Linked DNA regions of Homo sapiens: region 2 is linked to region 1. Evidence: promoter capture Hi-C in 16 types of primary human blood cells and fetal thymus (Javierre and others, 2016). All regions are on one chromosome and are shown on one strand. The core of a region is centred on a gene start or on the middle of the fragment in contact, and the rest is flanking DNA. Distances in the headings are between cores, read along the strand shown.

The links. Contacts are between HindIII fragments. The CHiCAGO score rates a contact against its expected background, and 5 or more counts as called.
Region 2: a contact is called between a fragment that was not itself captured here and the fragment with the promoter of SPINK1 in region 1, in 4 of 17 cell types (megakaryocytes, fetal thymus, monocytes and 1 more). The highest score is 5.9, in megakaryocytes.

What each region holds. Positions count from the first base shown.
Region 1 is chr5:147,830,205-147,832,946 of GRCh38, forward strand. SPINK1 (serine peptidase inhibitor Kazal type 1) reads right to left here and starts at 1,467. Exons shown (of 4, transcript NM_001379610.1): 1 at 1,319-1,467. The coding sequence starts at 1,373. It overlaps LOC124901101 (a long non-coding RNA gene), which reads left to right and starts at 301. Exons shown (of 2, transcript XR_007058987.1): 1 at 301-666; 2 at 1,205-1,407. The HindIII fragment of the contact is 4,964 bases long and covers 1-2,387 here.
Region 2 is chr5:147,591,832-147,594,856 of GRCh38, forward strand. The region is part of intron 21 of JAKMIP2 (janus kinase and microtubule interacting protein 2); the gene reads right to left. It overlaps JAKMIP2-AS1 (JAKMIP2 antisense RNA 1), which reads left to right. Exons shown (of 4, transcript NR_038902.1): 2 at 2,529-2,646. Among named protein-coding and RNA genes, the nearest start is that of JAKMIP2-AS1, 33 kb to the left of the region's middle. The HindIII fragment of the contact is 3,114 bases long and covers 1-3,025 here.

The DNA of each region.
Region 1 (2,742 bases), core at 217-2,716:
CAAAGAGCTATTTCCAACAATTGCATCATATGGACTATGGGTCTAACTCACATTTGTTGAATTTACAGGTAGTCAAAATAGCTAATCTCTATTCCCCCAGAAAATAGCAGAGGTTTTGCTGACAACATATAGGAAATGATAACTGTGGATAAGTTCATGGAAGGGAAAGGGAACTAATATGATAGCAATCAAATAAGGAAACATTCCTGAAAATTAATTTTAATATCATCAATCTTTGAGGTGATCTGAGCAAAGAGGTAGTTCTTTGTATCTAAATGTAATGAAAATTAGTGAGGCATCTATGAGCTTGGAGAATTTCCCCCGGGATAGTCAGAACTTGATGTTGTTGGGGGCCCACTGGCTTTTAGAATCTAGTTGAGTCTAAAAACTGAAGAGCAGGTGCTCATCACAGGCATCTATTTGTATTAATTAACATGCATGAGGAGGGGGAAAGGGAACACTGACTGTTGCCATAAATATTCAGCAAATAAAACAAACAATATTCTTCCTCTTCTTAGCAAAGTGCTGATTTGGCTCTCCACAGGATCCTTCACTACATGAGAGGTGAAGTTGAAAATGTTAACCATTTCCAGTGATAAAAAGGAAACTGATCTTGGCTCTGCGGGTTCAGAGTTGTCTGTCAACATTGTCAAGATGCAGTTGGAGGTATATGTGCACCATCTATTCAAGCAGAATATTTTCTTTCAAAACATTCAAAATGTGTAATGTAAATACACAAAATGCAATTTTTGTATTTCCAGATACTAATAAGAAATACCAGGAATTGAAAATAAAAAATTCCCTTTATATCACATATATTAGCTATTCAGGGATAAATCTGACAAACTATACATGATTCAAGTACACTGAAACCTATACAATAAAAAAATAAATTTTTAATCAGTCAAATTATGCCTTTTATACTGAATAACTGGAAGCCATTTATCTATTTTATGCAATCCCATGAGAATTTAAAATTTGTAATTTGGCCTTACACATTTACAGAATGAGAAGTATACTTAAAGTTAAAATATTTTTACCCTTTTTTCTCTACCATATCCCAACAAAGGGTCAGCCACATCAATAGAGGAAAACCATTTTATTTCTGGGAATTTCTTACTAGTAGAATTGTTTTCCTTATAGTAGGTTAAAAATTCCTCTTAAAAAATAATTCTTACCTGTTGATTTTATTTCATCTCATTAGGTCCAAAACATCTCTCGAAGACTAGACTACATCAAAAGTCTAGAAGATAATGTGCTTCACAAAGCAACAGGTCAAAACAGTTTTATTTAAATTTGAAAAATATGCAACACTTACCAGATAGACTCAACAGGGCCAAGGCACTGAGAAGAAAGATGCCTGTTACCTTCATGGCTGAAGTTCTGCGTCCAGAGGTCAGTTGAAAACTGCACCGCACTTACCACGTCTCTTCAGAAGCCTGGGACTGGAAGGGTCATATGGCAGATGGCAGCAAGGCCCCACCTACTGGGCTATATCACAGATCTCCCTGGTTATTGATTGACTCTGTGTCATAGCCTGGCCTCCAGGTTCTGGGAATGTCACCTGTGTAAGAAAGGTGAAAGGAGCCAGGTGGGCCTGAAACATGCAAGGCAAAGATTCTGTCAGGAAAATAGTTCTAGTGGTTAGTTTGATCCCTAACTCCCTCTGTGGTTGTGGGAAAGTCATTCCCTTCTCAAGCCTGTTTTCTCACCTGTAAGATGAACTCAAAGATCCCTTCTACTCTGTAGTTCTGGATAGATGAGCAGGTATGGATAGCTACTAGAAAGAATTTTATTCCAAGTAGGGTAAAACCTCTCCATTCTTTTTTCCTTTCCTCCACTCTTCCTTTCTTATTCTTCTTTCTCTTTTCTCTATTTTTCCCTCACTCATTCACAAAACCTAAAGTAGCTGATGGAGTGGCAGATGAGAGGGAAAGAGAAAGCAAGAGAGAGAGAGGACTCAGTTCCCTAAAGCGTGTATTCTGGAGCTAGAGGGTGCTTGTTGGAGCCACTTTTGCTGTGCTTCTGTGTATTCATCTGGAAATTAAAATAATAATAACACCTAATTCAAAGGGTTACTCTTTCATCTGAGAATATGTGCTGGGTAAAAGAGAATATGTGCTGGATATCTACCATGTGTTATTAGAAGAGAATTCTCCATCCTCTCTCATGTTTTGGTGTGTCTTATGAGTAGAGGTACTGATAACCTTTGTTTCAGACTATCTTTTTAAGGGTGTTTATATAACAAACGACCTTAGAAAATACGTAATGTCTCCCTCTGCACCAAAAGGCAGGTTTGTTTACTGTTTAGTGTAATAAAGTTAATATCTCCTTCTAGGGCAAAGACCATGTTAATTGCCCTTTACAAAAGATTTCGGGTTTTTAAAAGCTTGGCCTTTCTTTCCTTTAACACACTGTACTTTCCCTGCAACTATCACTTGATGCCCCTTAAATTGGCCTGTGGAAATTGGGGCTTGGGAAACCAGAACAAATTCCAATACTCTGGCTGTTGCTATGGAATAATTAAGTCCCTTTTCTCTGAGCCAGGAGTCTGTGCCTTCTGCCAGAAACCATTATAATGTGGCAGGCTAACTTCTTAGCTTCCAAGTAGGATAAAATCTCAAACCCTTCCCAAGTCATGACAAGAACTGTATTTATCTCTTAAGACAGATCAGTAAATAAAAATAACAATCTCTGTCTTCATGGAGCTTCCATTGCCTTTTTGTTGAGGGAGGCAAGTGA
Region 2 (3,025 bases), core at 306-2,805, 240 kb before region 1:
CTTAGTTACTTTAATTTTAAGGGAGAAAATAGAAGTCTCTATGTCAAAGGTTGTTGCAACACAATGCATATAAAACAATTAATGGTTCTTGTCTCAAAGTAAGTTGCCTGAAATATTATTATCATTACTGCTTTTTCCTCTGAGGCCTTCCAAGGTGATAGCTAAGAAGTTAAATTGAATAATCATGCCCCAACATATCCATTTAAGATGTTATTTTATTTTTGAAACTTATTTTAGATTCAGAAGGTAAATGTGCAGGTTGGTTACATGGATATATTTCATGATGCAGAAGTCTGGGCTTCTATTGAACCCATCACACAAAAGTGAAAATAGTACCCAATAGGTAGTTTTTCAAACACTGCCACTTCTCTACCTCCCCACTTTTGAAGTCTCCAGTATCTACTGTTTCTGCAAGATGTTATTTTAATAGCAGACCTGTCTATTCCCTTCAGTGACTTAATTCTATGTCACATTTCCTCCCCAACAAAATTGTAACCATTGGCAAATTGTCTCCACCTAAAGTCCTGATTGAAGAACTCCCTGGGAATTCTGCCACACAGGTTTCTTGGTTGGCCCAGAGATGTCCCTGAAAAGGTGCTACCCTGGGGATGTGCCAGTCAGGACTCCTAGCCCTGTTCCTCTGTAAGTCCATATGTCTGAGTTTTCACTTGTGTAGAAGTCTAGGTCGTAATGCTGTCTTCCAATGAAAGCCAGAAATAGCACAGAAGATGTGCTATGAGGTTGTGCTATCATGTCCTACTTAAGGGAATGGCCTTTAGGGTCTGAACAACATGGATAGAGAAAATGGGATTTCTATTTTCTTGCTGTATGCCCAAAGCTAATTTATTTAACTTCTCTAAGCCTCAATCTCCTCATCTATAAAATAAGGATACTGATTCTGTAGAAAGACTTTACTATTATTCCAGAAATGTTAAATCCAAAGTTAAATGTTAAAACCACAATCTAAAGTGGAGGAAAAGGAGGCACTTAGTACCCCAAGGATACTTCTAGTCTACCAACCAGGGGCAACTTAAAGATCCAAAGGCATATTTGCAGAGCCATTTTGCTCCCAAGACAAGGTTAGACTGGGATGGAAGAGTGACAGAGTCACAGAGGAGAACCTGTGGGAAGGAAGTACAGTGGTCGGGGAGAGATCACACTGAGGGAATGAGGAGGAGGTACGAAGAGGCGTAAAGATATTGATGGTGGATTCACAGAGGCATACTTGCCTCCTATTGCTCAGACATAGACTTTCTCATCTTCCCTTGCTTATATGTGAGCAGAGAACTGAAGAGTGATGACAGGGCAGAGACAGGCGCTACAGCGTAGTTGTCTCCTTGCTCCACACTCCATCAAAAAGCTACCTCCTTAGCAAAAAGCTGTGGGTTGCACCACCAACGAAGGGAGCCAGTGAGGCAGTGGAAGAGTCTGGGCCTTGGCCAGACTGGGAATAGGGCAGTGGGCATCCCCTGCACACCCTTCTGAAGAATTCACACATATGTTGCCCAGAATGGCCAGCCTTTGGTCACCTCTCATAGAAAAGATATCAAGTGTTGGTCAACAGTAGCCAAAGAAACATCTGCAATCACTGTCAAAGGAGCTGAGAGGGAGAATCCTTTTCCCTCTTCTTCCTCCCTGCTCTCCAGAACGGCTGAGCCTTGAAGAGGAAGAGAAGAGGAAGAGTTCTCGTAGAGTCAGACCCTGAACTACAGCTCCATGGGGGTACTTGGCTCATGCCTAAGGGAGGATAAGGGAAGAAATGAGAATAAAACAGAGTCTGAAATTGAACTTTTAAACTGGCTTAAGACTTTTGAGGATTGAAAGTGACTGAGAAGTTGGGGGACCAACCTAATATTTAATTAAAAGATGAGAGAGGGAAATAAGACAGAGCCTGAGTGAAGAAAGCTATGATTTGAGAAAATAGATTGAGTACATATTTACATTCCACTGGGATGAGAGCCCCAAATAACTAGTTACAAACACAACATTCTCCTATTCCATGGTAAATAAGAGAGTTGATCTGAATGTATATAAAAAATTCTTCAGGGATGTATTTTTGTTTGTGTGTTTTTAAATATAGAATAAATATACAAACACAAAAAGTCTTTTACTTGCAAACTTTCAATGTATAGCATATCAAAGATTAAATCCTATATATTGTGTCAAAGCATGTATGCATCATTTCCACCTATCACAACCGAGGTAAAACCCCTCATTTGAGTAAACACATGTTGGTTTTAAAAACCAATGGACTTACAGGCAGTCCAGGCAGTCTCCTGGAATGTTAAGTTTCTATGAATTGAGAAGTACTTGTAAAAGGAACTATTATTTCTATAGTGAAGCCAGATTTATTCAAATTAGCATTCTGAGTTATTGCAGTTACCCAGTGGGTAACAGGAGTTCTTTTTAACAGGTTGCATAACAGTGCTACAATTTAGTTTCCTCATCTGTGGAAAACAGCAATTGCCACTATCATTTTTGAGACTTTACTGCATGCTACAAATTCTTTTTTTTTCTTTTTGATACAGGGTCTTGCTTTGTTGCTCAGGATGGAGTACAGTGGTGCAATCTTGTCTCACTGCAGCATCGACCTCTGGGGCTTAAGCCATCCTTGCACTTCAGCCTCCCAAGTAGCTGGTACTACAGGTATGTGCCCCCATACCCAGCTAGTTTTTGTACTTTTGTAGAGATGGGATTTCACCATGTTTCCCAGGCTGGTCTTAAACTCCTGGGCTCAAGTGATCCACCTGCCTCAGCCTCTCAAAATGCTGTGATTACAGAGCCACTGTGCCCAGCTAATGCCACAAACTCCAAGTCTTGAGTACGGTGATGTGGCTTCTGACTTGTGGTTGTAGCATCTGTAAGGGCACCACCGTTTAACCAGTTACACCATCTAGGAACACAAGGGCCATCTCTGACACCTTCCACTCCTCACCCTTTATATGCAATTTGTCATAAAGTATTCAATAAATGGTAGCTATTAATATTACCTCCACAATACAGATGAGTACACTGAGACTGAAGA